Linked DNA regions of Homo sapiens: all the other regions are linked to region 4. Evidence: promoter capture Hi-C in 16 types of primary human blood cells and fetal thymus (Javierre and others, 2016). All regions are on one chromosome and are shown on one strand. Each heading gives the region's core, a stretch centred on a gene start or on the middle of the fragment in contact. The rest is flanking DNA. Distances are from core to core; before and after follow the strand shown. Region 1 overlaps TOGARAM1 (TOG array regulator of axonemal microtubules 1). Region 2 holds the start of PRPF39 (pre-mRNA processing factor 39). Region 3 has its middle 19 kb from the start of DORIP1. Region 4 holds the start of SEC23A (SEC23 homolog A, COPII component). Region 5 overlaps TOGARAM1 (TOG array regulator of axonemal microtubules 1). Region 6 overlaps PRPF39 (pre-mRNA processing factor 39). Region 7 overlaps KLHL28 (kelch like family member 28).

Evidence for each region. Contacts are between HindIII fragments. The CHiCAGO score rates a contact against its expected background, and 5 or more counts as called.
Region 1: a contact is called between a fragment that was not itself captured here and the fragment with the promoter of SEC23A in region 4, in 1 of 17 cell types (total CD4 T cells). The highest score is 7.0, in total CD4 T cells.
Region 2: a contact is called between the fragment with the promoter of PRPF39 here and the fragment with the promoter of SEC23A in region 4, in 11 of 17 cell types (non-activated CD4 T cells, total CD4 T cells, naive CD8 T cells and 8 more). The highest score is 29.1, in non-activated CD4 T cells.
Region 3: a fragment that was not itself captured here is called in contact with the fragment with the promoter of SEC23A in region 4 in 3 of 17 cell types (naive CD8 T cells, M0 macrophages and non-activated CD4 T cells); the score reaches 11.5 in naive CD8 T cells.
Region 5: a contact is called between a fragment that was not itself captured here and the fragment with the promoter of SEC23A in region 4, in 3 of 17 cell types (activated CD4 T cells, total B cells and naive CD4 T cells). The highest score is 7.9, in activated CD4 T cells.
Region 6: a contact is called between a fragment that was not itself captured here and the fragment with the promoter of SEC23A in region 4, in 4 of 17 cell types (naive CD8 T cells, non-activated CD4 T cells, total CD4 T cells and 1 more). The highest score is 11.8, in naive CD8 T cells.
Region 7: a fragment that was not itself captured here is called in contact with the fragment with the promoter of SEC23A in region 4 in 5 of 17 cell types (total B cells, total CD4 T cells, naive CD8 T cells and 2 more); the score reaches 16.2 in total B cells.

What each region holds. Positions count from the first base shown.
Region 1 is chr14:44,977,841-44,981,172 of GRCh38, forward strand. The region is part of intron 1 of TOGARAM1 (TOG array regulator of axonemal microtubules 1); the gene reads left to right. Among named protein-coding and RNA genes, the nearest start is that of TOGARAM1, 17 kb to the left of the region's middle. The HindIII fragment of the contact is 5,411 bases long and covers 1-3,332 here.
Region 2 is chr14:45,082,724-45,085,956 of GRCh38, forward strand. PRPF39 (pre-mRNA processing factor 39) reads left to right here and starts at 1,393. Exons shown (of 14, transcript NM_017922.4): 1 at 1,393-1,526. It overlaps PRPF39-DT (PRPF39 divergent transcript), which reads right to left and starts at 1,303. Exons shown (of 2, transcript NR_184211.1): 1 at 749-1,303; 2 at 325-664. RefSeq lists a silencer at 1,098-1,387. The HindIII fragment of the contact is 5,294 bases long and covers 1,071-3,233 here.
Region 3 is chr14:44,914,748-44,917,931 of GRCh38, forward strand. No RefSeq gene overlaps it. Among named protein-coding and RNA genes, the nearest start is that of DORIP1, 19 kb to the left of the region's middle. The HindIII fragment of the contact is 3,362 bases long and covers 1-3,129 here.
Region 4 is chr14:39,101,853-39,104,716 of GRCh38, forward strand. It overlaps SEC23A (SEC23 homolog A, COPII component), which reads right to left and starts at 1,383. Exons shown (of 20, transcript NM_006364.4): 1 at 1,180-1,383. SEC23A-AS1 (SEC23A antisense RNA 1) reads left to right here and starts at 1,288. Exons shown (of 2, transcript NR_146545.1): 1 at 1,288-1,519; 2 at 1,693-1,960. RefSeq lists silencers at 989-1,068, 1,089-1,208, 1,369-1,598. The HindIII fragment of the contact is 19,881 bases long and covers 1-2,864 here.
Region 5 is chr14:45,065,179-45,068,055 of GRCh38, forward strand. It overlaps TOGARAM1 (TOG array regulator of axonemal microtubules 1), which reads left to right. Exons shown (of 20, transcript NM_001308120.2): 17 at 1,400-1,589. Among named protein-coding and RNA genes, the nearest start is that of PRPF39-DT, 17 kb to the right of the region's middle. The HindIII fragment of the contact is 869 bases long and covers 1,077-1,945 here.
Region 6 is chr14:45,104,283-45,107,442 of GRCh38, forward strand. The region is part of intron 5 of PRPF39 (pre-mRNA processing factor 39); the gene reads left to right. Among named protein-coding and RNA genes, the nearest start is that of SNORD127, 5.0 kb to the right of the region's middle. The HindIII fragment of the contact is 6,663 bases long and covers 1-3,160 here.
Region 7 is chr14:44,953,548-44,956,599 of GRCh38, forward strand. All of the region lies in intron 1 of KLHL28 (kelch like family member 28), which reads right to left. Among named protein-coding and RNA genes, the nearest start is that of KLHL28, 6.9 kb to the right of the region's middle. The HindIII fragment of the contact is 4,594 bases long and covers 1-3,052 here.

The DNA of each region.
Region 1 (3,332 bases), core at 25-2,524, 5.9 Mb after region 4:
GGTTTCACCATGTTGGCCAGGCTGGTCTCGAACTCCTGAGCTCAAGCAATCCTCCCTCCACTGCCTCTGAAAGTGCTGGGATTACAGGCATGAGCCACTGTGCCTGGCCTAGCCTTCTTTTTGAAAAGAACTGGGCAGCACCACGTGAGCTGATTTAAGGGAAATAAAAATGGTTTCCGTTTTTATAATTGCTAACATGAGATTTTGAGGATAATTGGTGATTTGTGTGCTTGAAAACTGTAATGGCAACATTCACAAAATCGTTATAAGTTTTTAAAGATATGTGTATGGGCATATGCTTTCTGGAAAAGAGGGCACTGATAAAAGTAGTTTGAGAATCATGAAGAGTTAAGTTACCTCATTGGAGCAAAATACGAGGTATAGTTAGTTTTCTCCTCTCCTCCCAAATTCCACTGTGCCCTCCAAAAAAGGTGGAGCAGATTACAAAGGACAGTTGGCTGTTTGGAAAAAGAAAAAAAAATGTTTAGCTGATATTATCATTTAGTCTTTTTCAGTGAATACTAACCATACATGTATGACATATATATAAAAATGAGATTTTTGTGCCTAAATGTTTCTAATTTACTTAGACAAAAATGTGAAGATTAAAAGATAATATAGCAAATTAGAGATTTAAACATCAAATTACTGATAGAAGCAGTAGTTACTAAAAGAAGATCAAAACCAGGAGCAGTGGCACATGCCTGTAATCCCAACACTTTGGGAGGCCAAGGCAGAAGGATTGCTTGAGCCCAGGAGTTTGAGAGCAGCCTGGACAATATGGTAGGACTCTAAAAAAATACAAAAATTAGCCAGGCATGGTGGCACATGTCTATAGTCCCAGCTACTTGGGAGACTCAGGTGGAGGATCACTTGAGCCTGGGAGGTCGAGGCTGTAATAAGCTGAGATCATAGTGTCACTGCACACTAGCCTGGGAGACAAAGTGAGACCTTGTCTCAAAAATTAAAAAAAAGAGAAAAAAAAAAGAAGAAGAAGATCAAGAGCCAGGCATGGTGGCATATACCTATAGGCCTGTAGTCTCAGCTCCTCAGGAGGCTGAGACAGGAGGATCATTTGAGCTCAGGAGTTCAAGGCCAGACTAGTCAACATTGCAAGATCCCATCTCTCTCTCTTTTTTTTTTTAATGTCACTAACCAATCCTACATGTGGACAAAATAGAAATAACAGATAAAAAAAAAAGGTTAGAGTAAGATGAATTTTGATATAACAATTAGGAGTCAAAATACTGGATTCTAGTACCAGTTTAGCTTTGTGATTGTGGACTTGACATAAATTTTGTATCCCTAATTTGCTTACCTATAAGTCACCATTAATAATAATAATAATAATACTGTTTTCAAAGGCAGCTATTCTTCTTCCTGCTGCTGTAACAAAATGTCTTAGACTGGGTAATTTATAAACAATAGACATTTATTGCTCCCAGTTCTGGGGACTGGGAAATCCAAGATCAAGGCATTGGCAAATTCAGCGTCCAGTTAAGGCTCTCTGCTTCATAGACAGCACCTTCTTGCTGTGTCCTTATGGGGTGGAAGGGACAAACAAGCTCCCACAGGCCTGTTTTATAAGGGCACTAATCCCATACTTGAGGGTGGAGCCCTCATGACCTAATCACCTCCCAAAGGCCCTACCTCTTACTACCATCACGTTGGGGATTAGATTTCAACATGATTTTTAAGGGGACACTTATTCAGACTATTGCAGCAGCTAACTCTTAAATAGCACTTACTCTATGCCAGGCATTATTCTATACACAAAGGTTAAATAACTTCCTTAAGGTCTCTTAGCTAGTGAGTGGCAGAGCTGATTTGAATGTAGGCAAAATGACTCCAGAGTTGGTGCCTTAACCATTTCACTATCAAATGATCTATAACTAACCTCTTTTCTCTGTACAGATTTTTTCATTTGAGCACCTTGGGAAATTAGCAGAGAGTTCCTGAAAAAGGTGAATGTGACCTGCTTCTTGACAGGAGCTAAGGCTTCAAATGGTCAGGAAGGTAAAATGCATTCCTGGCAAGGGAGATGGCTTGAAGAGATGGCATAAGGCATGATACAAGAGTGTGCTTAGTATGTGATTCCTTTGGAATCCTCAGCTCCTAATGAACCACTGAGCCTCAGAGCAAAGTATATTAGTGTTATAATATTGAAAAAAAAATCTAGACTATGGATAACCTTATTTAGTAGCTGAAGCTGGCCTCCTCTGTAGTCTTAAGACTCCACATAGCAGGTCTCAGTACTTCCTTTTATGTATGTCACATATTCATGTGTCCTCCATACTCAGTTACAGGTCTGGCTCCTGGCCTGATTTGTACTGGCTCTTGGCCAGGCTCTCTGCTTTAACATTTACAGTCCACTGTTAATCTGTTATTTCTATCTTGTCCACATGTAGGATTGGTTAGTGACATTAAATACAAAATTTCCAGAAAAAAAATCATGAATATTTCAATTACATACTCCTGTAGCTCATTTTGGAGATAAATAGACCAGTTTGTTTGGAAGGATGATTTTTTAAATGTAATAGTGGCAGGCCGGGCGGGTGGCTTACACTTGTAATTGCACCACTTTGAGAGGTCAGTGTGGGTGAGGGAAGCGGAGCAGATCACTTGAGGTCAGGAGTTTGAGACCAGCCTGGCCAACATAGTGAAACCTTGTCTCTAGTAAAAATACAAAAATTAGTTGGGCATGGTGGCATGCACCTGTAATCCCAGCTACCCAGGAGGCTGAGGCAAGAAAATCACTTGAACCCAGGAGGCAGAGGTTGGAGTGAACCCAGATGGTGCCACTGCACTCCAGCCATGGCAACAGAGTGAGACTCGGTCCCCACCCTGCCAAAAGTAGTAGTGGGAAATATGATTACAAGAGTGAGGCAGGGGCTAGATTGGAGACTCTTGAATACCATGCTAAGGAATTTAACCTGTTATTTTGACAGTAATTTCAGATTGCTGGAGGGTTTTTGTTTGTTTCTCTTTTGGGGGAGGGGGTCTTTTCTTTTTAAAACAATGTTTAGAAAAATTAATCACAAAAGCAGCAATGTGTAGTTTAAACCAATTAGATACTTATTAGACTGATTTAGATGTGAGTTGTTCAGTTTTATGAGGATTAGCAGGGTATCAGGATTAGGAAAAAAGGGATGGATGCAAGAGATATTTCAAAGGATTTAGTGACTAAGTGTTGGAGGAGAGGAGAGGGAGGAATAACTAAAATTTGAACAAAGTAACTAAACTCATCATAGGTCCATGAAGAGATAAGAAAGTCTAGAAGTAGGAAATTAATTTGGGGGGAAATATGAATTTTTGGTGAAGGAAGATAGAAT
Region 2 (3,233 bases), core at 143-2,642, 6.0 Mb after region 4:
AAAAAAGTTAGCTTGGAAAGTAGAAGAGGCAAATGGAAAGGGAAAGCTACTACTAGGTGCAGTGTGATGCAAGTAAAAGGTAGGAAAAAAGACTGAATTTGGTATTTCGAACGAAAGGTGCTGGTGAGAGGATTTATGATTAACCTGCGTTGTGACAAGAAACGTCGTCTTGTAAATAAGTATTTCCAGAGGAGACAGATTTCAGATGAGGAACTTGGAGCCCAGTAGTAATACTAATGCACCTGGAACAACAGATTACATGGTAAGTGACAGGTGAATGCGGGGGCACCAATGTAACAGAATCTTAAAGGGAGAGAGGCCAGATTTGAAAGAAAATTTTTTTTTATTAAAGTGGAGATGGTGGTACAACTGAAGAGGACTGCTAAGATTGTTAACGCACAGTCCCCCTCAATTTGTCCAGAGGATAACATATCCCTTCAGATACAAAGATTTTTTTTTTTGCTTGGCCAACTTTAGTCAGGTTTCTGAATCTTCTGCTAGGCTCTTCTGTACACTTTCTTTGTAAAATCCAGTTTAAGCAAAGAACTTTGCTAAGTCAGATTAGCAATAAACCCCCATCCTTGATAGCTGATCATCCTCAATATCTGATCAGGTTCTTCAGTCTCCACCATCCCCCAGGTGATGCCTCATTATCTTGGCCTGTCTTCAGCAAAAATCCTATTAGGTGGGTTTAGCCAAAATCCCCCTTACCCTGATGTTTCCTCTTAGTAATTATACATTCACTTACCACCGCTCCTTGGCTATAAATCTCCACTTGCCCATGCTGTATGAGGAGTTGAGCCCAATATCTCTTTCCCTACTGCAAGTCTCCATTGCAGTCAGTGGTCCCTATACCTGTTGCGATGGTCCTGAATAAAGCCCTCTTTTTGTGCTTTAACAAGTGTCACTAAATACTTTTTTCTTTAACAATAGCCCGTTCTCCAAACCCCTAACTCCAGAACTGTTTAGTTTTCAGGAAACCTGAGTGGGCCCAGGGTCTATACCATCGTGAGATTTGTGGGTTTAAGGCTGAATTTCTGCCCGTTTTTAGGTAAATGTTTTAGTGTGAAAGCTTGAACAATTGTAGGGAAAACCTTAGATTTGCCCCCAAAAATGACATTTTGCCGTTTTTGGTGGGGAGGGGTCAGGGCGCTGTGTTTAAGATCAGGCGTGTGAAAGCCCCTAAACGCCCTCCTTTCCTTTGGGAAGTCCCTATGGAGGGAAAGGCAGGTAGGCGCAGCGGTCCCCGCCCTCGCTCGCGGCGGGGCGGGGCGGGGCTGCGGGGGCGGGGCTGGGGCCGCACGGGCAGCGAGGATCCCTGGGAGGGCCAGGCCTGCGCGCTGCGAACCCACGTGACTTTTTCGCCTCCAGGGACACTGACGCATGCGCATCGTGCCCTGGACCAGGCGGCCGTGGCGCGGGTGGCGGCTGCTGTGCTGGCTGTGGGGACGGAGGCGGTGAAGTGCCATCTTCGGCTAGGTCGTCACAGGCTCCGGCTCATGGCATCAAGTGGCATCCATCATAAGGTCTGCTGGGGCGGGCTCCTTGAAATTAGCTGGGGCAGAGGGTGGTACTTGGTACTGAAAGGGGCCTGCCGGGTTTCAGGCCGCGCTCTGGCCGCGGCCTCCCTCTCCCGCCCTGTTTGAGGCCTGGCTCGGATTCAGCGCTCAGCTGTCCATTCCTTTCTCCTTCCCACCTGTTGGGTGGAGCGGTGCAAGGTATTTTTTTCTTAGACCAAACGTTTCACTTGAGGGGTGCGTTAGGTAGGGTGGAGAAGTGTGGGCCTCCTTCGCCTGGATTTAGGAAGATATTTGGGGGTAATTCTAAAGCCCTTGCTTCTCCCGGAGCTGGAACACGGCTGGGGTGGCTGGAAGTGGAAGGAGCACATTTGCAGCCGCCAGAGGATTGGGAAGATAATATACGTTCTATTACTAAGGCATGTGAGCGCCTTGTAGGGCACGTTCTGTCTTCTGACTACATAAGCAACACTTTTGCGACCCTAAGTCACAGCACCCACAGCTTTTGGCAGGATACTTTAAAACAGAAAAAACACATCATTGATCCTGGCAGGATTTTTTAAGGGATTGTGCTTAAGAATGTTTAACTTTGGTAATCAGAGACCACCACTGGTGTTTTTCTCCAAAATCACATCTTTAAGTTAATTAATACTTGAAGTTAATAAATAATACTGCTCAGTGTATTAGTAATGATGCCATAATACCATGTGAATTTATGCTGATTCAAATGTTGTTTTTTTCGTTTGATACTCATATGGCCTTCTGTTTGAGGACTTCAGATTATTTAGCAACTGATTTAATCTGTTCAGAAATAAACTTTGCTACAGCTGGAAAGCGTGAGGCTTGAGAAAGCAAGTTTTGGACAGGGACGTATGAAGCTCATGTTGAAACTTAAGTGTTTTAGGCTGTATGGGAGCTTGAATGGAGTGAAAAGAACAAGCGTCTACTGTCAGGTTTTCCTCCTCCCTCTAGATTTATAACCTCATTCTAGAGTTGCAAAAGTTGGAACTTTCCACTGTTCACTCTCTAGTAGGGATAAAGTGATGGAAAGGAGTTCTGTTAAAGAGGACTAGTACTTAGATTGTGAACTTTGAAGTAGGGGTTGAGCATAGATGGCTCATAGGTGGTATGAGACACTATTTGTGTAAAGTCTCAGAATATTTTTCCTTGCTTATAATTGAATAAGAAAGAAGATGTTTAAAAGTCAAATGATAAAAATTGTATGTGCTGTTTTCTGTGGTATGTTTTAACAAATCTACATGGAAGATAGGACTTCAAAAAAAATTAAAAATAGCCGAAGGAGGAAGAAGGTAGTGTAGTTCCAGCCAAATGGTACGTTTTCCAAAAAGCCGAAGATTGATGTAGACGTTTATGTAAATACATATACAAAATCTAGTTTCTGGAACACAGTGTTTAATATGTAGAGACTTTAAAAAGTCGGCGTGTGACTACTTAGCCCTTAAAAACAGCTGCCAAAACCAGTGGTTATGATAGTCTCTTTTCTTCTTACATCCCAAATCTCCAGATTGCCTTGTGGATGAGATTTGCTTATTGCAAAGCTACTTGTTTTGCTCTACCCAAAACTCCTTTCAGTCTTTAGTGATGACTTCAGATTTTTATATATTGCTGTGTTTATGAAAAAGAATAGTCAATGGTATAATTTTTAAGTACCTCTACAGGAATAAGAGGCATACAGAAAAAAAAAAAAAGGTATTA
Region 3 (3,184 bases), core at 199-2,698, 5.8 Mb after region 4:
TGTAGCTTTGGGCATGTGACTTAACCTATTTGTTTCCTCACTGTAAAGTGGAGATAATACTAGAATATATCTCATAAGGTTGTAGTGAGGATTAAATGAATTACTATATATAGCACTTACTGCCTGACACATAGTAAGCACTATGAAAGTGCTAGCTGCTGAGGCAGGAGAATAGGGAATTAGGGTAACCAAGGGTTAATGCATAAGCAAAAGAACAGCAGGCGCAGATAGTTCTAGGCAAGATTAGGCAGCATACAGGCTACATCTTGGCTCCTGTGATAACAAGACAGAAGTTTCCGCTTCAATCTGTGATTGACTGCAGGGCAAGCCTCCACTTCAGCCTCTGGTTGGTCGTAGGCCAATCCTTCATAGGGTGTAACCAACTGGAGGCCTCCAAATGTTATGTAGGGGTGTTGCCCATGTTCTTTTGGCTTTATAAAAACCTTGGGGAGCATTTCAGTAGCGGGACTCTTGAGCTGCCTCTTGAAGCCCATTCCCAGTCTGTGGAATGTACTTTCACTACAATGAATCTGTGTTTTCATTACTCTATTCTTTTGTTGCTTTGTCTTTTGTTGTTTCTTTCTTTTGTTACTTTGTGTATTTTGTTCAATTCTTTGTTCAACACGCCAAGAACCTGGACAATTCACAGTTAAGAACTTCCCACCCAGTAACATTACCATTATGGATTCCTCTTTCAATATTTTATTAAGAAATTACAGCAAATTAGTGTGTAGTGTTGTTGCAGAAAATTAAATTCTATGCAAATATTTCAAGTTTGTTGGCTGAAAACCATTGCTGGTATTTCTGTGGAAATGAAGATCACAGAACAAATTACAATGTAAAAATAGTTTTAAAAAGTTAAATACATGAATTAGTTTAAAATGCAAGAACAAAGCAAAGCAAAAATTTGAAGAGAAAGTGAATAAAGTTTCCTAGACATCAAATGGTAAAATATCCCATATTGTTCCTGTTCAAAATCTTTAACCATTTAACCACCAGATACTATCCAAAATTGTTTATCCCCCTACCATAGTCTTCAGTGTTTATGTCTGCCCACAATTCATATGTTGAAACTCTCATCCCCAAAATGATGGCATTAGGAGGTGGGGCAAGGCAATTAGGTCATGACAGTGGAGCCCTCCTGGATGGGATTAGTGCCCTTAGAAAAAAGACCCAAGAGAGATGCCACACTCCTACTACCATGTGAAGGCATAGCAAGATTACGCCTATGAACCAGAAAAAAAGTGTTCTTACCAGAAACCAAATCTGCCTTTATCTTGGACTTCCCAGCCTCCAGAACTGTGGGAAATAATTTCTGTTGCTTATAAGCTACTCAGTTTATGGTATTTTGTTACAGCAGTCCAAATGAACTAAGATACCACCATGTATACATACACATATACACACTATATATGTGTGTATATACACACACATATACACACTATATATGTGTGTATATACACACACATATACACACTATATATGTGTGTACACACACACACACACACTATATATGTGTGTACACACACACACACATACACACTATATATGTGTGTACACACACACACACATACACACTATATATGTGTGTACACACACACATATACACACTATATATGTGTGTACACACACACACATATACACACTATATATGTGTGTACACACACACACATATACACACTATATATGTGTGTACACACACACACATATACACACTATATATGTGTGTACACACACACACATATACACACTATATATGTGTGTACACACACACACATATACACACTATATATGTGTGTACACACACACACATACACACTATATATGTGTGTACACACACACACATACACACTATATATGTGTGTATACACACACACATATACACACTATATATGTGTGTATACACACACATATACACACTATATATGTGTGTATACACACACATATACACACTATATATGTGTGTATTCACACATATACACACTATATATGTGTGTGTATACACACATATACACACTATATATGTGTGTATACACACATATACACACTATATATGTGTGTATATACACACACATATACACACTATATATGTGTATACACACACATATACGCACTATATATGTGTGTATACACACACATATACGCACTATATATGTGTGTATACACACACATATACGCACTATATATGTGTGTATATACACACACATATACGCACTATATATGTGTGTGTATATACACACACATATATGCACTATATATGTGTGTGTATATACACACACATAAATACACTATATATGTGTGTGTATATACACACATATATACACTATATATGTGTGTGTATACACACATATATACACTATGTGTGTGTACACATACATATATACACTGTGTGTGTACACTCACATATATACACTGTGTGTGTACATATATACACTATGTGTGTGTACACTCACATATATACACTGTGTGTGTACATATATACACTGTGTGTACACTCACATATATACACTGTGTGTGTACACACATATACACTGTGTGTACACACATATATACACTGTGTACACACACATATATACACTATGTACACACACATATATACACTGTGTACACACACACACGCACTGTGTGTGTGTACACGCACACACGCACTGTGTGTGTGTACACGCACACACGCACTGTGTGTGTGTATATACGTATATACACCATATATGTGCGTATATACGTATATAGTGTGTGTACATATGTATATATACACATATAGTGTGTGTATATATGACTTTGATATATATTTCTATATGTCTTAGACATATATAGATATACACATATATCTATATATAGACATACACATATACGTATATATAGACATATATGATATTGGTCTTTTAAAATCTGGCTATAAAACTTTTCCCAGACATACTCCTCTATTCAGTGGGAACCACCTACTCTATATAAAATTCTAGGACCCTTGCCTATTTAAATTCTTAACTCTTCTCAGGGCACACACAAGAATATACTTTATAAGACTTCTTTCCTGATCAGAGACAAAAGTGATTGGTCCATCCTTATTTACGTCCTGCCTTACTCAGTAAGATATTTAAATCAGCTTTTGATGTGCATTAAAGCATAAGAAGCTTTTCAATTCTTTAACTATATTTTAATGTTAGACATAGTTTAAGCCAAAATG
Region 4 (2,864 bases), core at 133-2,632:
TTTTTCTCATCAGCAAAATAAGAGACTTGGACTAGAAAATCACAAGGTCCCATCTAACTCTAAAATTCTGTAAGTCAATTAAAAATAGCTGGACTCTGGCCGGGCGCAGTGGCTCATGCCTGTGATCCCAGCACTTTGGGAGGCCGAGGCGGGCGGATCACCTGAGGTCAGGAGTTCGAGACCAGCCTGGCCAACATGGTGAAACCCCGTCTCTACTAAAGATACAAAAATTAGCCGGGCATAGTAGCTCGCCCCTGTAATCCCAGCTACTCGGGAGGCTGAAGCAGGAGAATCGCTTGAACCAGGGAGGCGGAGGTTGCAGTGAGCCGAGATTGCGCCACTGCACTCCAGCCTGGGCGACAAAGCAAGACTCCGTCTCAGAAAAAAAAAAAATAGCTGGACTTCTGAAATGATGTTCATTCACTACCAGAGGAGAAAGAGAAGGAAAACTCAACATGCATTTATATTTAAATCTAAAACCTTTTTAAACCAAGTTAATTTGGCTAGTTATCCATGGCTTTGGACGGTAGAGGTTGAGGGAGTTCAAGTGAAAACGAGAATTCCACATCCCCACTTCAGTGATTGATGTAGATTTACTATGACCTTCCTCAGGCAGTACCTTTACCACCAAATCGGGAAACACTACCTACCGTAGAAAGAAAGCCCAGTGAGATAGGGCTGGTCCTGCTGGAAAACTGAACTCTTTGTAATCAAAACCCAAGGCATTATCTTTACCAAGCTCTTTTCCCCTTTAACCCCTTTAACTTCCAAGGCTGAATTACGGTGACGTAGTCAATTGGGTTCAAAGTCTAGGACACTCCATATCTGGCAAGGAATGAAACAGTAAGTCCAAGGGCCCAGAGGCGATGATGGACTTGGGTGGAGGTGGGTGGCCCAGGAGGTGGGGGTGGGTGCTGGGCGAGATGCTCGAACCACCGTTTTCCACATCTTTCCACCTAATCCAGGGGAGCTGGAGGAGGCCGGGCCCCCGGCCCCGGCAGAGCGAAGTGGGTGAGAGGGTGGCAAGCTCAGCACTCAACGCTCCCCGCGCCGGACCGGGCCTCAGCCTCCAGCACACCTCGCTGGCCCCGGGGCACCGAGAGGGCAGAGCCGGGACCACCCCAGGATCCCAGCCCCCAGCCCGCCGCCGCCAGCCCGCCCCCGCTCCCCGCTGCGCACCTGCGGTCCCCCAGGAGCGGAGACGAGGCGGCCCTTTCCTCACTGTCCCCCTGCAGGACCCGTCGCAGCCTCCGCTTTGCAAAATCTGTCCTCTCCGCCCAGCAGGAGCAGTCCGTGGCACCGCAATCAGGGGTGGCGCCACCCCGCCCCGGGCCTCAGCGAAGACCTCCGCCCGGCCAACATGGCTGGCGCCGCCTCTGCCACGTCAAGAGGAGGGGACGGGGCGTGAGGGCAGGAAGGGGGCAGGAAGGGGCGGGCGCAGAGTTACCAGGGCAGGCCACCGGACCCCTGAGCTTGCTTAATAACCGGAGGATTTGAGAAAGGCGCGCGGCGGGCGAAGGTACCGAGAGGGGAGGAGGGAGGAGAGGTAGCGGGGACCGAGCCAGAGGGGCGGAAGAACCCGGAAGACCCAGGCAGCCGGACGGCCGAGGGGCGTGGGACCGGGCAGAGCGGGACCGGGAGAGAGCGCCTTTCCCAGCTCCCTAAAGCCACAGCGTATCCCACTCCCTGCAGGTCGCAGAAAGAGTGGAGAACTGGTGCCACTCGGACACCTTAGCTCACCGAGAGAAATGGAGACGGCCTCCAGGACATCTTAGGACCCTGGTTGATTCCGAGAATCACAAATCACATCTCTGAAAAAAGTGAAAAGTTCATTCTTTCACTTAGTGCAACAAATGTTTACTGAAACTTACTATGTGCCAGACACAATTGAGATGCTGGTAATATGATGCAGGCAAAGTAGGCCCAGATCCCTGGCCCGAAAGAATTCACGTACTATTTATGTATTTTAGTCAGCCTGTCTTTTCCTCCTACATTGCCTCTGCCACTTCAACTCTGTCTCCCCCCACCCCCAAAACACACACACAGTACAATATTTGGCTGATTCATCTTGATATGTTCAATGTTTTTCTTTCCAAGAAAAAAGTTGAACAAAATGAGAAAGCAACAGATTGGTAAGACATTAGAGCTTGGTGGTCTCAGACAACCCCTTCCTTCAGTGAGGGGAATGAAATTAAGTGCCCATGGAATTAATTGCATATATGACAACGCCTAAAAGCCTGCAAAGTTTAGCCATATCAACATTTTATGGAATGGAAAAAAAGATCAAGTCCCTGTCCTTGAAAGCTCATATTCATGAGAAATAAGACAGCAGCACCAGGCTGGGCGCGGTGGCTCACGCCTGTAATCCCAACACTTTGGGAGGCGGAGGCAGGCGGATCACAAGGTAAGGAGTTCGAGACCAGCCTGGCCAACATAGTGAAACACCGTCTCTACTAAAAATACAAAAATTAGCCGGGTGTGGTGGCACGCTCCTGTAGTCCCAGCTACTCGGGAGGATGAGGCAGAAGAATTGCTTGAACCCGGGAGGCGGAGGTTGCAGTGAGCCGAGACCACGCCATTGCACTCCAGCCTGGGTGACAGAGTGAGACTGTCTCAAAAAAAAAAGCACCAAACATATTTCCCTTTCTATAATGTGTGTACTAAAGTTGTTTTGGAAGGTGGAAGAGGATGTTTGCTTGTCAAATTGTAATACAATCCTGAAGAGGGCAATGGGAATCGAAAGCCAAAAATTAGTGTAGGCTTCCAAATAAAGTAGGTTCAAGGTGCTACCTTAATGAAGATTCTTAACAGCACACAGCAGAGGTGTTGTTATAAAGGTGGAATAAGTACACCCACCAAAAGCG
Region 5 (2,877 bases), core at 261-2,760, 6.0 Mb after region 4:
TAAAATAGATAGAAAGATAGAGTGAGACTCTGCATCTAAAATAGATAGACAGATTGACCAACCAACCTACCTGTCACTTTGCATGACTCTTTAGTTTCAAAAGGATGATCATCTAAACAGGGGTGTCCAATCTTTTGCTTCCCTTGCCACACTGCAGAAGAATTGTCTTGGCCACACATAAAATACACCAACACTAATGATGGCTGATGAGCTAAAAACAAAAAAACAAAAGAAAAAACATTCACATATACACAAAAATCTCATAATGTTTTAAGAAAATTTATGAATTTGTGTTAGGCTGCATTTAAAGCTGTCCTGGGCTGCATGCGACCTGCAGACCATGGGATGGACAAGCTGGATCTACCACATTGAGTTACCCCTTTATAGCCACGAAAAATATTATGCTATGAATACTGTCATTGCCATAATAATTCCTGCTGGTCTCTAGTTTCTCATTGTCCCATGAGTGTTCTCACGGATACTTTGCAGGAAAGAGTTAACATAACAGGGCCCAAGACTGCTATTCTTAGAAAGGCCTGCTTAGAGAGATTGCCCATTGGTTGACATCTGGGAACTTAGGTTTTGGAAAGATTTCAACTATTCCTCATAAGAGTGGTTCACTTAATCTTCTCTGGAGGATGAGTTTTTTGAAAGAGGTTCAAGGTAATTTATCTAGATCTCAACGGGCAAGGAAGCTGTTCAGAAAAAAGTTAACATTGCAGTCCTGAGACTGCTATCCCTAAAAAAGGCTGCTTGCAAGGTTAGCTCTTCGCTGACATGGGAAACTAGGATTTCAAGAGGATTCCCACTATGCCCTAACTGATAAGATAGTTTACTGCGCCTAAATTGTTTGGGCAAACAATATGGTTTATGCTGGAGGCCTGGTTTCCTTCTGGGAGTCTGGAATTTTGGTATGTCCTAGGCAGACAGTCCCTACATTACCAGCTCCCAGTGAAAACTCTAGACATGAGGCCTCTAATAAGCTTACTTAGTAGACAACATTTCACATATGTTGTCATAACTCATTGCTGAAGGAATTGTGTTCTGTGCGACTCTACTGGGAAAGGACTCTTAAAAGCTTAGATCTGGTTTCCTCTGGTCTTTGACTTGTGCACCTGTTCCCTCAGCTGATTTTGTTTGGTATCCTTCTGCTGTAATAAATTTTAGCCATGAGTAAAAGTATAGGCTAACTCTTACGAGTCTTCCTAGCAAATATCCAAATCCAGGGGAGATCCTGGGGACCCCCAGGAGAGATACTGTGGCTATGGGTTAGCCACAGTTTTTTGCATTTTATGCATTTTGGAAAATGAATGCATAATGAGATTTTTAAATTATGTTTGTATAATAGTTTTTATAGGAAAGTACAAATGAAATTACCTTCACCTTTCTTTCACTTTAGAGCTGTAACTGAAGTTCGTGAAGTCACCAGAAAATCAGTCCCTCGTAATTCCTTAGAAAGTGCTGAGTACCTTAAACTCATAACTGGCTTATTAAATGCAAAAGACTTTCGTGATCGTATTAATGGGATTAAGCAGCTTTTATCAGATACAGAAAATAATCAAGACCTTGTTGTTGGAAACATTGTGAAGGTAAGGACTTGTCAGAATTAATTTTAATGTGGGTATGGTGGCTCACGCCTGTAATCCAAGCACTTTGGGAAGCCAAGGTAGAAGGATCTCTTGAGGCTAGGAGTTCAAAGTTCAAGCCCAACCTGGGCAACATAGCAAGACCCTGTCTCTACAAAAAAGAAAATAAAAATTTATTTTCATTTGAAATCTATGTCAAATGAAGTTTATCAGTTTAAAACATTGCCCTAAATCTTAGTGTTTTATATACCTTCTCTCTATATCTATATACAAATTACACAAATTTAAAATGGAATGTAACTAATAAATTACTTATATACATATCATATATAGATATATAATTCTCAAGTGTGAAAATAAGCTTAGTGAAAAGAATGGATTTTCTAGGTTTTTCTAGGTTAAAAGCATACTAGAACAACTCAAAGTCACTGAAACAAAGTAAGAGGATAGCTATTTATTAGTCTGAATCCTGCCACAAGATGGTAAGCTCCTTGAAACTGCTATATTCTCAGAGCTCTCAGAACCTGGCATCTAGTAAATATATGTTGAATTAATCAATACATATTTTTAAAAAGCAAAGACAGATAAGAGACTTGATATTGCTTTAGAACAGATAATAAAACTTTCCATATGTGGGTTAGAAATCTCTATATACTGACTCCTGTGTACCTATCTTTAGGAAGACAATAAGCAAAAGAAAGGGAAATATTAATAAATATTCATCATGTCAGAGCATAGATTATTTTTGCTTGATCAGAATTTAGTTCAGTTAATTCTATTAATAATTTATTAATTAAATTTCATTTTAAATTTGTGTAATGTGCATTATACTTGGCAAACATACCATAAGTACTCTTTACTTCTCATGGTATTGTCTCAGTTTTCTGAAGAAAAGAACCATATTACCATGTCATGGGAGCCAGAAAGTTATATTTTCTGATATCTATTGAGTAAAAATAAATCTCTTGGGAAGATTATTCTTAACATGAAAAATAATAAATAAGTATTAGAAATTATTAGTGAATAGTCTCAGCTCATAGAGTAGCTCTTCACTCACCTGACATGACTAAAGGATTGTTTAGCATTCACTTTATTATATCTTGAGTTTATGAAAGTTAAGGATTCTGAAGAGCAAGGAATTATTGTTAAAAGTTTTCAGGTTAAGAGATAATAATACAAATTTAACTCTGAAATTGCATCTAAAATTTTCATAATAAACCTAAACTGAAACTAGGTTAAATCTCCACAGTAAAACTTACAAGTCTACTTCTAGTGTGAAAAGAGATAAAAA
Region 6 (3,160 bases), core at 586-3,085, 6.0 Mb after region 4:
ATCTATAATCTGATATTTTTCACTTAATGCATTTAGAACCACTTTCCTTATCAGTTATAGTGAACTCACAAGTAATCTTTATGCAGTTCTTATAGTTTATATAAGTTAATTCACATGACTAACTGCTTTGAGAACCACTGAATGTTTTGTTTTTTTTTTCCATAACACATGCCTCTTTCTTAAAGTCATTTATTTAGCATTTGCTGTGTACCTGTTGATAGGCTATTTAAGTTGTAGGAATGAAGGCCCAAAGAAGCCATGTGTAAATAGCGTTGCCTGTGAGTTGGTCAGAAGGATAGAGGAGGAGGCGTGTGTTAAAAAAGATATTCTAAGTGGTATACAGTAATAATGGAAATATTTTTATTGTGCTTGTGCATTAGGCTTGTACCATTGGATGTACCCTGCACATTATCTCTGAGATAATGTCTAATTTAAATCCTTCTTTAGCATGAGGACTTTGTGATCTGGTCTAACATCCAGGTCCAATCCCTGGTGGTTCCTGAGCTCTAGACACACCTAAGTCTGATAACTTCCCAAAGGGCAGTGTTGTTTTATATCTTTATGACTGTAATACCTTTTCCTCTTTCCACTTGTCTAGTGGACTTATATTCCCTGAGACCACACAGTTTTGTGTCTTCTCTGTGAAATTTTCTCTGGTTCTCCTATACTGAGATACCTAGTCTGTTATTTGTGCCATGACTTTACCTACATTTATTTACATTTATATTAGCACCAGTAACACTGCTTTGAATTTATGTCTCTTATATCCTCAACATGCCTGTCAGTTTCTGAGGCTTAATTCTTTGTATCTCTAATATTTAGGAATAGAGCTCAATATATATTAGGCAGTCAGCCAGTCTTTACTGAATAAATGTTAGCTTTATAATACAAAAAACTGCTGAAAAAATACTGCTTAATATTATGCACATTTTGTCACTGTTTTAAAGAAGTTGTTACATGATGTAGCAATAAGTCATTTTAGATTTATGTACTGTATGTAGTTATTTTGAAATTTTACCTTAAGTTTTTAATTCATTTGTTGACCATTCTGAGTTTTAATATTCATCTGTAATTAAATCTGTTTTTTCATACTACATATTTGAGAGTTACTTCCTTATTTTTAATTTTTTAACATAAGGCAATCTTTGTTAATTTTTTTCCACCTGGTGCTGAAATGGGCCGTTAGCCTCTGTATCCATTGACTTTGCAAAATTTAAATTAGATTCCAATGTTATTTATATACTTTTTTTTTTTTTTTTTTTGAGGTGAAATCTCGCTCTGTTGCCCAGGCTGGATTGCAGTGGTGCAGTCTTGGCTCACTGCAGCCTCCACCTCCCAGGTTCAAGTGATTCTCCTGCCTCAGCCTCCCGAGTAGCTGGGATTACAGGTGCCCGCCCCGACACGGAGCTAATTTTTGTATTTTTGGTACAGATGGGTTTCAGCGTGTTTGCCAGGCTGGTCTCAAACTCCTGACCTCAGGTGATCCGCCCACCTCAGCCTCCCAAAGTGCTGGGATTACAGGCGTCAGCAGGCGCCTGACCTGTTTGCTTACTTTTTAGTAACATTTCTGATAGTAGTATAGAGGTGGGAATGGGAGTTGTGAGACTAGAGGCTGCAAGGTCATTTTATGTTTATCCAGCTTAAAAGTCCCGAGGTGATGAACATGTATTTAAAAGGTACAGTCAGTAGGACCTGGTATCTAATGTAAATGAAAAGCTAGGTGGAAGAGATTGAGAGATGTAGTGGTTGACAGTACCATTAATCAATATTAGAAATGCTGAGGGTGGCGGGGCACGGTGGCTCACACCTGTAATCCCAGCACTTTGGGAGGCTGAGGCGGGTGGATCACCTGAGGTCAGGAGTTCGAGACCAGGCTGCCAACAAGGTGAAACCCCGTCTCTACTAAAATTAGAAAAATTAGCTGGGCGTGGTGGTGCGCACCTGTAATCCCAGCTACTTGGGAGGCTGAGGCAGGAGAATTGCTTGAACCCGGGAGGTGGAGCTTGCAGTGAGCCAAGATAGAACGATTGCACTCTAGCCTGGGCAACAGAGCAGGACTCCATCTCACACAAGAAAATAAAGAAAGAAATACTGAGGGTATTCATTTTCAGATGAAGATGCCATACTTATTTTAAAATATTTCATATTTGAGGTTCCAAAGGTATATTCAAATTGTGATAGTGTAGATATTTTAGCTCCTCAACCTGGTATTTTTGATTACAATTTGTATGTATACAAATTATTGCATGTTTTTATAAAATAGTGAAATGATATTTTTTTCAAAAATCTTTTTATAGATTAGCTTAAAACTAATCCACATTTCTTTGTGCAGAGTATTGGCAGTTGTATATGCTAATGTGATTAGGAGAAAGGTTTGGACTTGTGTTGTAGTTTTGAGAGTCATCATGGTATACTTATTTCAAGCTGTATGAATGAGATTGGCCAGAAGTATGTATTAATAAAAATAGATGAGAACCAAATGGAGAGTGGAATACTTGGGTATAGTAGCATTTAGGGCAGGTAAGAAGGGGAATAAGACATAGAGCAGCAGTCAGAGGCTTGGAGGACCATACTACAAAACAAGTGTCCATTTAATTTTATATATGAGGTAATTGATAATCTTAATTGGGCAGTTTCATTGGATTTTTGCGTACTCACATGTGGATGAGGAGTATTTGGGAGGTGGGAAGGAAATGCTATATTTGTTGGTTATTTACAAGTGATCATTTAGAATTTAAATATGGATTACAGTATTTAATTTTACTGTAACTTTTATGTCTTTGTAGTAAAATAGATTCTATGACACACGAATAGGTATTATCATCTTATTTTACAATTGAGGAAACTAAGATTTAGAGAAAAGAAAACCTTCCCTAGTCAGATAACCAGTAACAGACAGAACTGAGGTTTGAATTTATGCCCGTCCATGCCTTCTCCATTCCACTGTAAAGGTAGGAAGAAATTGAAGATGTCTATAGACTGTTTTATCATATGGTAGTGTTTTATCATATATGGTAGGATTTTACTATAGAAAAGAAGGAGAAAAGGTATGATATTTTGGTTTCTTTTTTAAATCAAATCCTTTGAAAGAGTAGTATATAGTAGGAATCTCAATATGAGATCTAAAATTATGATTCAAATACATATATTTTTATTGTCT
Region 7 (3,052 bases), core at 541-3,040, 5.9 Mb after region 4:
AGCTGAGCTAGCACACTCACAGCCCCCTCACCATGTGAGGCCTTGTGCTGCCTTGGGACTCTGCAGAGTTCTTACCAGCAAGAAGGCTTCCACCAGATGCAGCCCCAAGAAAGCTCACACCAGGTGTGGCCCCCTTGACCTTGGACTTCTCAGCCTCCATAACTGTAAGAAATAAATTCCTTTTACTTATAAATTATCCAGTTTCAGATATTGTGTTATAAGTAATGGAAAACAAACTAAGACAACCTGAGATTAGGGAACAGTTTCCTAACTTTGAAACAAAATCCAGAAGACATCAGTGAAAAAATAGGTAAAACTGATTACATTTTAAAAACTTGGAATAAAGAAATCGTAAGTAAAAATATAAATGAGACTGAGAAAAATATTTGTAGCATATATAAAATATATATCAGTAATACATAAAATATTTCTAAAATTTTCTAGCCCTATAGGAAAAATTGGTTAAAGAAATGAACAGATGTTTGTTAAAAACATAAATGATTTTAACCATACAAAAATTGCTCAACTTCACTTAAAATCAAATAAATTAATACATGGAGTTAACAATTCTCTCTTGACAGTATAGTCTGTTGGTGAGGATGTGAGAAACAGGAAATCTCACTCATTGCTGTGGGAATAGAAAATGATACAAAACCTCTGGAGGTAAATCTGTCAAAATACAGCAAAATTACATTTGGATTTTTCCTTTGACCCAAAAACCCTACTTCTAAGAATCTATCCAAAAATTACACTGGCAAAAATGTATAAAGACAAATCCATAAGGCTAATAATAATTGCAGATCTATTTATAAAAACAAAATAATATACTCATGTTTCTTATTCCTCATATTTGAGAGACCAAAAGGCAACTGACCAAGATTTTTAAAACAACTCTCATGTCCAGCAACAAAAGAATGGTTGTGAAAACTATAGAGCATCCACACAATGCAGTACTATACAGCGATGAAAAGGAATGAGGAATCTCTGTATAGAATACTCTGCAGTGATCTCCCTGATCTAAGCAAAGTGTGTTTAGTGTGTCACCATTTATCTACGATAGGGAAGATTACAAACATACATAATCATTTCTATTAAAAAAAGGAAATTTTACACAATATATACTTTTAAAGGTTACCTACAAGAGGAGGTATGGAACTAAAAACTAGAGGATAGAGATAGAAGGTAGATATTTTTGAATATACTCTGTTTTATAGATTTGACTGTGGAATCAGAAAAGTATTTTATGTAATTATAAAGCACAATTAAATCTTAAAAACATGATCCATAAGAAATTTGAAAATTGAAAATACAAAGGAAGAAAATATCAACTTAGTGGCCTTACCATACCATTCCAAATAACTTTAAAACAGTAATCTGAAGTCTCTATTGCGACATGCCCTAAAATATATATCTTATGCTGTTTTCAGTAATCGCATTGTTGATAAGGACACTGTTTATTTGTATTGTGACACTGTTAATGTGTGTATTGTGCTATAAAGCAAATGAGTAATGATATGATATTCTATCAACCCTAGGGTCACTGTGATCTAGGATTCTTGGTATGGGAAAAAGAAGGTAACGACATAACACTAAGATGTTAATTATGAACCTCACAGTCTGTATTTGAATAAAAAGTATGAGAATAAATATATGTATATAAATAACAGTAAATATTCATATATACTAATACATAATTTATATATAATACATAAAATACATGTGAGCTATACATACATATTAAATATACGTAATATTATTTTAAGGAAAAAAATAAATTATATTTCCTAGCTCTGTCTACTGAAAAGGTCTAGAAACTGACCATCCCGGTAGCAAAGAACACTTCTAGCATTCAGATGTACTCTCTAAATACCATTTCCCTCAAAGAGAACAGAACTCCTTGGGCAGATAGCTGATACCATGTCTGGGGCAGAAGATGTCAAGACACATTTGGAATCTAAATCCTAGGTAGTATAATCCCAGCACTTTGGGAGGCTAAGGTGGGAGGATAGCTTGAGCCCAGGAGTTTGAGACCAGCCTGGGCAACACGGTGAAATTCCGTCTCTACAAAGAAAAAAAACAAATAAAAAAATTAGCTGGATGTGGTGGCACATGCCTGTAGTCTCAGCTACTTGGGGGGCTGAGCTAGGAGAATTGCTTGTGCCCAGGAGGTCGAGGCTGCAGTGTGCAGTGATTGCACAACTGCACTCCAGCCTGGGAGACAGAGTGAGGCCCTGCCTCAAAATAAATAAATAAATACATCCTAGGTAGCAAGAAAGCTATCAAATACTACAAGAGTCATATAAAAAATATTCAGGGGCCAAACTAAATAGGCTTTCACTAGTCAAAGACAGGACAAACTGATCATCAATAATAATAACTGCAATTGATTAAACGATATCAGATATTTTAAATGCATGAGTTAATAATGATACTTAAAAAAAGTCCTAATGGTCAACACCGGACGATGCTAATGTAGCAACTCATTTTTTGAAACCTAGTAAACAAAGAGAAATAATCAAACATTTATTATGCCTTTCCTACACTAACTGTACTACTGGGTTTCCAAATAGATGAGTTTTTTTGTTTTTGTTTTTTAAGAGATAGGGTCTTGCTACCTTGCCGAAACTAGTCTCAATCTCCTGGTCTTAAGCGATCCTCCCACCTTGGCCTCCCAAAGTACTGGGGTTACAGACATGAGCCACTACACCTGGCCAAATTTCTCTTTTTAAAAGTATCCCTGTTAATAAATAAAGAAGGAATAATGGAATATTATCATTTTGCATCCTTAATAAATAATGGGCATTGATTGTGAAGGGCTGTTTATATCACAAAAAGAGAGATAGCTAGATAATTGGGCCTTCTGATGGAAAAACATAACACCCATGAGTATTCTCACGTCCCAACCCCAACACACACCAAAGTCAAGCAAATTAAACTACAGCCAATTCTCTAGTTCCAACTATTAATTTACATAAAATATAGAAAATAGAAAAATCATGTTAAACAATACCAGAAAGATGCAATTAGCAAAAACATACCGACTGTGAAAAAT